Regions from separate parts of the Homo sapiens genome. Here region 2 is linked to region 1. Evidence: promoter capture Hi-C in 16 types of primary human blood cells and fetal thymus (Javierre and others, 2016). All regions are on one chromosome and are shown on one strand. Each heading gives the region's core, a stretch centred on a gene start or on the middle of the fragment in contact. The rest is flanking DNA. Distances are from core to core; before and after follow the strand shown. Region 1 holds the start of PKNOX2-AS1 (PKNOX2 antisense RNA 1). Region 2 overlaps CCDC15 (coiled-coil domain containing 15).

What was found. Contacts are between HindIII fragments. The CHiCAGO score rates a contact against its expected background, and 5 or more counts as called.
Region 2: a contact is called between a fragment that was not itself captured here and the fragment with the promoter of PKNOX2-AS1 in region 1, in 1 of 17 cell types (endothelial precursors). The highest score is 5.4, in endothelial precursors.

The regions. Positions count from the first base shown.
Region 1 is chr11:125,262,806-125,268,308 of GRCh38, forward strand. It overlaps PKNOX2-AS1 (PKNOX2 antisense RNA 1), which reads right to left and starts at 3,993. Exons shown (of 2, transcript NR_187382.1): 1 at 3,835-3,993. The region is part of intron 2 of PKNOX2 (PBX/knotted 1 homeobox 2); the gene reads left to right. The HindIII fragment of the contact is 10,539 bases long and covers 1-5,503 here.
Region 2 is chr11:124,954,750-124,960,468 of GRCh38, forward strand. It overlaps CCDC15 (coiled-coil domain containing 15), which reads left to right. Exons shown (of 16, transcript NM_025004.3): 2 at 1-160; 3 at 4,366-4,515; 4 at 5,066-5,254. Among named protein-coding and RNA genes, the nearest start is that of CCDC15, 3.4 kb to the left of the region's middle. The HindIII fragment of the contact is 912 bases long and covers 3,510-4,421 here.

The DNA of each region.
Region 1 (5,503 bases), core at 2,743-5,242:
TTACTTCTCTGTTTCCCTCTCCCATGCGTTCCCTCCTGCTCCTCTACTCACGTACCCTCCTTTTCCTCTCTGTGTCCCTCTTTCTATTTCTATGATCCGTTTCCTAGTGCTCCTTTTGTTCAGTCATCGGCGCCCCTCGCCCTCCCCGAGGTTGTGCCGGGAGTAATGCTGGTTAAATGCTGCTGTCTGCACGGGGCAGTCTCTGTAGTGTGTGCTGAATTGCTGCAGGGAGGGCCAAGAGCACAGCACAGAGGGCCAGAGCCAGTGGTGTGGTGCTTCTAGACTCAGTCGGGTGCCAGCCCTAGCTCTAGTATGCCCTGGTTGTGTGACTGGGGACCAATTCCTATTTTTCCTTGGGCCTCAGTTTCCCCAGAAATGCAATGGGGAGGACATTGCCCTACCCTTCAAGGACATGCCTCGGTTCATAAAGGAGACCTCCTCTCTCTAGAGCCAAGCTCCCCCACCCCACCCCCATCCTGCCAGGGCAGGCTCAGCCGCTCCCTTCCCGTCCCTAGCAGTGGGGGAAGCCGCATGAGGAGGAGCGGCGTGGGAGCAAATGGAGGGGATCTGCTGGCGGGCCTAGTTTAGGCAAACAGCAGGGACTGCTGGCGACGGCTCCAGCCCCCACTCCCGCGGTAACAGCTGCAGTCCAGCTGCTGGCATCCCTGCTGGGGGAGCGTGCTAAACCTCTCCGGGGTCAGCACTGTGGTATGTCGGTTTCCATAGCAACCAGCCAACGGGCCACTTTCTCAGAACAATTCCCCTACTCAGCCGGGTTCTGGACTTAGCTCAGCCCAAGGGCATGTGGCTGAGGAGCAGCGCGGGAGGGGGAGAGCTGCCGAGGGCCAGACTGGGCCCCACAGAACGTGGCTATCTCAGTCCGGTCTTCGCACGGAGGGCGTGGAGCCGAGGATGAGCCATGCAGACTCTTCCGGCGCTGGCTCTCCCTGGCCTCTCTCTGTGCCACGCCGCCCCCACCACCCGTCCACAGACTGGCCAGCTTGGCCCAGTTGGAAGAAGTGTCAGGTCTTTGTCTGAATCTGGAGAACAGCTGCCTTGGCTGGGTTCAGAGCTGGGAGGACAAAGTCCTGGAATGGCGTATAAGGGGGTGCGGGGAGGGGGCTTTTCCTGGCTTCCTTCTCCGCACCCTTCCATCCAGCTCTTGCAGGACCATGGGAATCCCAGTGACCTCAGGGGATGGGGGGCTAATCAGTCCTCCCCCACATTTAGAGGGTGGGAGAGGATCACCTTTCTCAAGCCCCTACAAGAGTTAACTCCCTGAATCTGAGCAAGTTGGTGCCATCCCTGACACTGTTAGGAAAAGGGAATCCTTAGAGGTGAAGATCCATTATGGGAGCTACAAGGGACCTCCATCCATTTTCTGGATAAGGAACCGGGACCCAGTGGAAAATGGATTGTCTGGGGGCCAGGATGGGTAGAGGCAGAGGGCGGCTGCTTCCCAACCCCTCTCCTCTCCTGGGCTGAGCTCACCGTATGTCCCCAGGAAACTGGATGATGCTAGAGCTCCTTCCCCAGATCCCTTGGAATGCAGCTCAGGCTATGGTGGGCCTGGGGTCCTGGGGAGTTTGTCACTGGAAGGGATTTCATTTTCAGAAAGGAGCCACTTGCAAATTGGGAAACTGAGGTCAGGGATAGTGTCTCTTTAGGCCTAATAACTGCAGGACTGGACGTTAGGGCTGGGACTTGGCTTCCTGAGAGGTCACCTGGTGGTCCCTGCTAAGACCTGGGAGGCGTAGAGCATTCTCGGGTGGGGTGGCGGGGCCGGGGGGCTGCCCAGCTGTCTTGATCTTCTACTCTGTGAAATTATTCCTCACTTTCAAGGGGCCTAGTTCTCCCTTCCCCACCCCCCATTCCTTTTACCCCCATCCCCTGAAAAGGAGGAGACAGATGTCCTTTCTTCCACACATCACAGCTGCAGCCAGACACAATTTCTCTAAGCCCTGGGAACAGGTGTGGAGTAGTTCTAAGCCCCCTAGGGATGTGGGGGACTCGAGAAGGCGGCCGATTTTAGAAGCTGCACGGGTTCCCATCCTCCCCTGGCCCCATCTGTGAAATGGGAGGACTGCTCTAGGTAAGCACTTCCCAGAGTGGGCTCTGGGGGCGTAAAGAAAGTTCCAAAGCTAAGCCAGCTTGGGAAAGCCTGTGTGAACACCTTGTCTTAAAACAGTTACAGGGCTTATGGCCGGGCATGGTGGCTCAAGCCTGTAATCCCAGCACTCTGGGAGGCGAAGGCGGGCAGATCACGAGGTCAGAAGATTGAGACCATCCTGGCTAACACGGTGAAACCCCATCTCTACTAAAAATACAAAAATTAGCCAGGCGTGATGGTGGGCGCCTGTAGTCCCAGCTACTCGGAAGGCTGAGGCAGGAGATTGCCGTGAACCCAGGAAGTGGAGCTTGCAGTGGGCCGAGATCGCACCATTGTACTCCACCCTGAGCAACAGAGCGAGACTCTGTCTCAAAAAAAAAAAAAGTTACAGGGCTCATTACAAGTTTAAAGACTTTAACTTAGGGCTTCCTAAACATGTATGACCAAGGCAAGCTGATTTCCGATTCAATGAACAAACCTCCCTGGCAAACACCGGCCTCTGCAAGAGGTTCCAAGGCCCTTCTCTCTCCGAGGTTCCTCTTCAGCACCCAGGATGCTCACGCCAATTCCTGCCACACACCTGACCCACTCCTCCTTCAGTGGACGCATCCCTGACACTGTTCTCTGCCCCATGGCCTCTGCTGCCGCCTCACCCTGCTGGCTGCTCAGTTGTGCTTGGGTTTTCTCCATCCCAGACCTTCAGAGAGCCTGAACAGAGGCAGGGGCAGTGCGGGGCTGTCACCCGGGTTTCTGAGGGGTCTAAGCCCCTCAGCTCAGCCCCCACCCCAATGGTCCCCAGAGGGTTGCGGGTCATCTGTGGCTTTTCTGCTTCACAGGGTTGGGTAAGGGCTCTAGAGCAAGGAGAGAAGAAAATTCTGGCCACCAAGGATCTCATCAGGAGGATCCTGAAGGGGGGAGCTTAAAGAGGAATAGGCGTTCCTCTCCTCACCGTCTAAACTCTCAGAGTAGTCACACCTCACATTCCGCAACCCTCAAACTTCCCAAAGGCCCTGAGTGTGCATGACACCCGCCCATCAGGAGACAGCTGTGGTGTGGTGGAAAGCGTGTCAGCCATGGAGGAAACCTGGGCCCCCAGCTCCATAACTGGCCAGGTCTCTGCCCCGAGGCAGGTCACTTCACCCCTATGCACACTTACCAAATTTCTCAAAGAAAGGAATAGTTCCTTTCTCACTGGGTTCTCATCAGAGTTGAATGATATGATAAATGTGACAATGGCTGGCTTGGAAGAGTAGCTCAGAAAGCACGAGCAGAGAGGAATTCACCACCTCCTCCCCCGTCAGTGGTAAGATTTCTCTGATTTTAGGAGAGAGAAAACTGAGGCTCAGACAAGTTAAGTCACTTGCCCAAGGTCACACGGCCAGTCACCCCCAGTCCTTTGCCTTCCTGCTTTGCTTCATTTCCAAGAAGATGCCTCTGAGATGGGAGATGTTACACTGACTTTTGGGGGCATTTAGCCAGTGTGATGTCCTTGATTCTTGAACCTTTCATCCTCCCCACTAGTAAAATGCCTGCGAGACAGAGGCTGGAAGACAGCCCTGCTTTTCTGAAGGGGTGGGATTATGGATGTGTGGAGGCAGGAAGGGGGTATTAATTTTTGTGAAAATAACTTTTTAAAAATAAAAGTAGGCTTCTGCAGTAAGACAATCTCATTTCAGTTTGCAAAGAGCTCCTCCCAGTAAGAAGGGAGAACGTTTTCTCCTTACCTCCTCGTTCCTGGCCACGCAGACCCTCGATAGGCCCTGCCACCATGTCCCTCTCACTCTGCGTGTGCAGCCACAGGATGCTGAGCTGCTGTCCTTGAGCCCTTTCCTTACAGCAGCAAAACCAATCCACATGCAAGGTCTGGAGGTCAGGACGGGACTCACGGCTTCTTCCCTACTTCCCACCCAGGTTCTAAAGTCATTTTACTTAGCACAAGGAAATGAGGAAAGAACAGGGGGAAATGAGGAGAAAGAACAAGCATGCCTATCATGCGCTCCACGTTGTGCTAGGGCCTTAGGAATGTGCCTTCGGCAAGCACTATATCTCCCTTTTGATTTTTCTGTGGAAAAATCTCCCTTTTGATTTCTCTGAGACAGAGGCTGTTTAGAGGCCATGAGAGGGAGGGGTTTTGTCCTTGCTATCATTGTCTGTTTCCGTCACCAGCCAAAGCACGGACCCTGATCGGTATCTCCATTTGGCTAACTCACCTTCTCTTCTGCTATGTCCTTTCCTCCCTCCATCATTTGAAAATTTCACAACCTGTGAGGTTGGGAAGCATAGGTAGACGTTTGGTCAAGCTGGAACGACAGTTCTACCAAACTCCTCCCCTTGTGCTCATGTGTGTGTTCCCGTACCCACGTGGATCTAAGTCCTGTCCCGGGATAGTGCTCGTATCTGGAGTGAATGGAAGGGTCAGGAAGGATGTGCTTGTCCTGAAGGCTTGTAGAGGGAGGAGCTATCATGGCAGCCTCTCCTCCTGAGCTCATTCAGGTGTTCCCTCTGCCTGGCTGGGCCATCTCTTTCCTTGCCCTTTCAGTAAGAGGCTGTGGAATTATGTGAGGGAGAGGAAGAAGCTACTGCTTAGAGGGATTCTGCTCTCCAGGCCTTAAGCTGGGGTGCTTTCTAGCTCCGCTCTTCTCGTTTAAAGGGATGGCCTGACTCCAGCAGGTATCTGGAAGTAAAAACAACAAACAACCCCAAACATCTCCCAGCGCCAGACTGATAGCTCAGATTTCTACCACAGGTGAGATTTCCTGCTCATCTTTCTGATGGAGGAAGCCTGTGTGTGTGTGTATGCACGTGTGTGTGTGCATGTGTTGTGCATGTGTGCGCGTGTGTGTGTGCATGTGTGTGTGTGTGTTTTCTCTGCTGATTTATAGGCACTTTTTGGGTTGATAGATCTGTGAGGAAGAGTAGGAATGGAGTCAGGGAATTGTCTTCGATCAGAGGCCTGATGAGAACAAGGCGCTCATCAACACTGTTTAGGAAGGTGTTTTGTGCAGGAATTTGTGGCAAGTGATGGGAGGATGGTAGGGTGTGAGAAGAAGGGGGAAAATGCCACAGTATCTGACAACTTAAAACTCAGGGAGTCACAGAAATGTTGGGGCTTTGAGAAAACTTTGCCAACAACTCTCCTCTGAGGGTCTCTGGCCTGAGGTCACTGAGAATCTCAGGGAAAACAGGAGCAAGGACACAGCGGGCCCTCATGGGAGCAGATGCAGTCCTTTGGCCCACCTGCCCCTCCCTGCTCTCATCTCGGAAAACGTCGGCCCCCAACGCAGACAGGTCACTTGGAAACCAGGGAGTGGGGTTAAAAGCATCTCTCAACCCAATGTTCCCTTCCCCTTTCACATGCAGTATTTTGGGAACCGCGTGCTGTAGAAGCTGCAT
Region 2 (5,719 bases), core at 2,716-5,215, 310 kb before region 1:
CCGAAAGAAACCTCGAAATACCTCAAGGTTGCCCCTGGCTTTAAACCCCCTGAAGAGCAAGGACGTGTTGGCAGTGCTGGCTGAGAGGAACGAGGCTATAGTACCAGTTGGGGCATGGGTGGAACCTGCCTCACCAGGTAGTTCGGAAATCCCAGCATATGTGAGTGTCAGTTTGATCCAAATATGGTGGGGTTCCCCACCACCCTTTTTATTAGCCTTCTCTAATCCTGGGTGCTTAAAGATGAACAGTCCGAGGATGCTGTTTCTATTCTGCCATAAATAGTTTATGCTCTTGCATTAGGATTATAGAACAAGTATTTGCCAAAACTTGACTGCAGCTTTAGTTGGCATAATCAAATATTTATTACTCACCTACTATAATATATAGAGCATAATCTACATGGAACAGGTTATATAGATATATATCTGTATATCAGTTTACTTCAGACTCTTGATTGCTTGTTATGCCCAAGACATAAGCACTATCTACATCTTCCAGACACTGCAACTTAGTATGGATGATAGTTGGCATACTTCAAGTAACATTAATTGGTTGCTTAAGGTTTATGATAAATTTTGTAATGAGGATTCAGGCAAAATGGAGTAATAGAATAAAGGAGAAAGAGATGAACTCTGATAATCTGAGAAAGTCTAACTAGAAATTCCATGGTTTCTGATAGTCTTTCACCAAACTGTGCCCCTTAGCTATTTGTTCAAATTTAACTTGGCACTTACCACATTGTGTTATAGTAGATTGTTTATATATCTTTTCCTGATGCAGTGTGAGCTCCTTGAGCGTAGAGAACAAATGTCATTTATCATCACATTCCCACTTTTATCTTAAATACTGCCTAATCAATATAGACACTCATGAAGTATTTATGAAAGGCACAAAATGTCTTCTGTATGTGTAGACAAGGTGCTGAACATGGATGAAAAAAGGATGAGATATGTTCCCTCAGTGTACTTGATCTCAGAAGAGAAATGAGATGTGTTTAAATGTTAAAGTAATGCAATATACTATATTCATTTTATTTATGTTTGCACATATGTATGTATATTCATTGATTTATTCCTACCCTGCCTATTTCCAAAAAGGATTTTAAGAGTCTAGGTGGTATCTCTATCTAAGTTCTAAGAATATAATGCTCAATCAAGAAGCTATGACGTTGGGTTGATGTGACCCAGGAAAGTGTAATGAAGAATTTGATCGGAGAAGGGAAGGGAATGATTCTCCTATTAAGGAGAATGAGGAGAGTAAGAAGTAAGCAAGGTTCAGGATTCTAAGGGTAGATTAGATCGATTGGAGTGGAAAGCTTAGTAGGAGAATGGTTGCTGACAGGATTATGGAAAATAGGGATGGTAGAGTACCTTAGGAAATTTTGGAGAAGGGATTGACTTTGTTTAATATTTACAGGTGAATGTCATGATCAACCAGTGTTTTCTTTAGATGAATTGCTTCAAAGGTTTTGAAGGATAGGGAGTGATTGGATCCTGGGGATAAATTAGAATATAATTATAATAATTTAAGCATGGAGTATAGCATCGAAACTTTGTTAGTGGTAAGAAATAGAGAAGAACAGCCTTGAAAAAGGATGATTGAAGTGCTTGAGCCCACGAATTGTAGGCTGCAGTGAACTATGATCATACTACTGCACTCTAGCCTGGGCAATAGAGTGAGACCCCATCTCTGGAAAAAAAAAAGGAGTGGAATGAGAAGGGATGAATGCAGGAAACACCCCACAAGACTTGGTAAGATTTGGTATAAAGATATTTTGGTATTTAAGTTGTTGACACCTCTTTGTAATTGCTCAAATTACATCTGTATAATATCAGTAGTGTCAACATGCCTAAAATTTGACACCATCAAACTTTTTCTATGTTAAGAAGTATTGACTATCGTATTCACACACATTAACTCAAAATATTAAAGTCTTGGAACATGGATAAACATATCTCCTTTTCCTGATTTAAAAATTTCTGATCAGTTCCAGCCAAAGGGAGTTTGATCAAGCATCTAATAGAACTCCTTATAGCTTTAGCATATCTAGTCTGGGTATCCACCCTTATTAACGGATATAGCTCTGTCAGCTCAAAATAAATGCTGAATAGTTACTTCTAAAGCTTGGCCCTTAGATCATGTCTGTTCTAAAGGGGAACTTCTACTCATTTTTCTCCCCAAAATTTCAGGGGGCCATCAGGATTCCTAAAAATGTCATAGCTTTAGACTACCTCCCCCCAATAATTATTAATAAATTAGCATCAAAAGACACTGCTGTTCTATCATCATATATGGGATTGCATTATTTTATAATTTGTTCTGGTTACCTTTTGCTGTGTAACCAACCACCCCAGAACTTAGTGGTATAAAGCAAATAATACTATGTAACAGGAATTTGAGCAGGGTACAGTGGTAATGGCTTGTTTCTGCCCCATAGTGTCTGGGACCTCAGCTGGGGCTCAAATAACTGGACATGTCTGAGACACCTTGACTATTTTCCGGCTATTGGCTGGAGCTAGACAATAGTCAAGTTCTCCCAGTAATGTGGCACCTGCTGGGCTGTAATGTCCAAGATGGCTTTCTTATTCACATATCTGACGCTTGGCCTAGGATGACTAGAATGTCTGGGTGCTGGTTAGATATGTTTCTCTTTTCACATGGCTTCTCTGTTTGACTAACTTGGGCTTCCTCACAGCATGGTAATCTCAGGGTAGTCTGAATTTTTATATGGTGCTGACTTCCTTCAGAATGAGCACTCTAAGAACAGAGGTGGAAGTTTCTTTATGACCTGGCTTGTAATCTTGTGGAGTAAAAGAGGAGCAGAGAAAATGGAGGTAAAAGAAAGAGGCCGAATGGCTTAAACTTGTCTGGGGCTTGAGTTAAGCTGGGTCAGTTGTTCAGGCTTCATTACGTATATATCTCTCCGTTGGAATTATTTTACCTAATTGTTCTTTGACACTTGTACACTCCACTAGAGTAGTTTATGGGATAGACATCTTGGAAATTTTAACTTAAATTGAAATTTGAATGCATTTGATTTTGAGAATTTAATGACAGCCTGTAAAATGATCTGAGGTACCCTTCAGAATTAGAAGTTGGAATCACTGAGTTAGAAGGAATAGGTACGAGATATGATGATGATTTTATTTAATTTGAAAATTCCTAGTGAAAGAGAGACATAGTCAAGAGAAAAGCAGTGTAGAGAGGAACATAATTGTTGGAGTCAGAAACTTCTAATTCTGCTACTAGTTAGCTATATTAAAATTACTTAATCTTTCTGAACTCCAGCTTCCTCATCTGTAACATAAGGGATAAGAATACCTACTGCCAAAGGTGGTTTTGAGGATAGAGTGCTACAAAGTAGTTAAAATACTTGTCACCTGATAGATCCATAATAATGATAAGTGCTGTTATGATGATGACTATGATTATTATTCAAAGCACTTAGAGGAGATAAATGCAGATCAAGAACTCAAATGGGATAAAGTGTTCCAGATTGTTCAGAACAAGCTTGTCCAACATGCGGCCATGGGCCACATGTGGCCCAGGATGGCTTTGAATGCGACCCAATGTAAATTAATAAATTTTCTTAATTAACACTATGAGTTTTTTTGTGATTTTTTTTTTTCTCATCAGCTACTAGTGTTAATGTATTTTATGTGACAGTTCTTCCAACATGGCCCAGGGAAGCCAAAATATTGGACACCCCTGGTTTAGAATATGTTTTGGAATTGAGCAATTATATAAATATATATTGACTACCCTTATAGTGAAGGCTCTGTACTAGATGCCGTAGGGGAAATAAAGGAGAATTGAATACATATCCTGTCCTCAAAGAGTTCATAATCTAGTAGGGGAGTCAAGAAGTACTATACTCAGTTAACATTGGTGAAATGAGAGGTGTTATAGCATAAGAGGGCTTAGAGAGAGAGTGTTGTGGAAGGTACTGGGGAGTGGGTATTAAATGGTTGTGAAAACTGAATAGGCCTTTACTAGGTGGAGATGAAAGGAAGGGCATGCCAGGTTAAAAATGGAGCATAATGCCAAATATGAAGACATTTTAACAATAGGACATATTTGGTGAGTGGTAAGTAACCTGGTGTGTCTTGACTATTTACTCCATTTTAGAAAATGTGTAACGTGTTAGGTTTTATTTGGTTCATTAAGATTTAATGAAGACATCGTTAGTTCTAATTCAATAAAAAATTTAAGATTTGATACTCATACATTCCATTTTTTTTTGTACAGAATGGAATTATTTTTTTCAGGATTGTATCCTTATCCTGACTGTTTTGTGTTTAAAACAGCCCTAATGGACAAAACTGCTAACATTTAAGTTCATTTTCTGTCTTTCATCTTTAAAGACATCAGCATATTTAATTGAAGAAGAACTAAAGGAACAGCTAAGAAAAAAACAAGAAGCTTTGAAACATTTTCAGAAACAAGTTAAATACCGAGTAAATCAACAAATTAGGTTGAGAAAAAAGCAACAGCTTCAGAAGTCTTATGAAAGAGTAAGTTCAAAAGTGAGCCTGAGTAAAGATTGAATGGAAAATATGTGTGTTATGAGATAAGCTATTAGGCAGTAACAGAATTGCTTTCCTTTGATTACATGCCTAATATAATCTAATTAACTAGTGAAGACAGTAAATTTTTTTTGTAGAGAAACCATGTTTTATTCCTGTGTTCTGACTCAATTTTTTGCTTTTACCAAGTAGTTAAAAGCAATGTCAGAATTTTGGGTTCAGACTTGAGTTTGAATTTTGGCTTTGCTACTTCTAGCTATTGACTTTTGGCTAATTACTTAACTTCACTGATTGTAGTTTCTTCATCCATAAAATAAGGATATGATACTTCTCTCATAGGATTGTGTGAGAGTTAGATGAGATAACCTAAATTATTAGCACATGGGAGGTGCCTGGTAAATGTTAGTTTCTCTGCCAGCTAAAGCCTCTCCCCTGCCCCCCACCCCAATTTAAAATCTTCTGAACTGCTTTAGAGGCATTATTTGATTGCTCTGGATTGGGGTAGAATGTTACTATCCCCCTTTCTTCTTTCGTGTAGGCACAAAAAGAAGGCTCCATAGCCATGCAGTCTTCAGCAACACACTTAACTTCCAAAAGGACAAGTGTTTTTCCAAACAATTTGAATGTTGCTATTGGAAGTTCTAGGTTACCTCCTTCCCTGATGCCTGGGGATGGAATAGAGGATGAAGAGAATCAGAACGAATTATTCCAACAACAAGCCCAGGCTGTAAGTACCTGTTCTTTTTATTTTATGTCTATGATATTTTCCCTATCCCCTAAACTATAAATATGACATCTAGGGTATGAGGTAGGGATTAAGAGTTATCACACTCAGCTTCACTTTTGATAATCATCCCCCTTTTTTTTTTTTTTTAGCTTTGTAAAGTGGGGAATAGTGGGATAATGCTTTTTAAAAATTTTAAATTTAAATTCATTTGTGTTTGGTAAGATACTCTAAAATTATCTAAAGAAAAGTGCCGCGGAGCCTGCAGTGAGCCGAGATTGCGCCACTGCACTCCAGCCTGGGCGACAGCGAGACTCCGTCTCAAAAAAAAAAAAAAAAAAAAAAAAAAAAAAGAAAAGTGCCAAAGTGCTAGAATTCAAAACCTATTAGAAAGCACTTTAGGTCAAGAACATGGATTTTCCAAGTTATATTGAAATTATATTCTAGGCAAGCTACTATTAGTTTGTA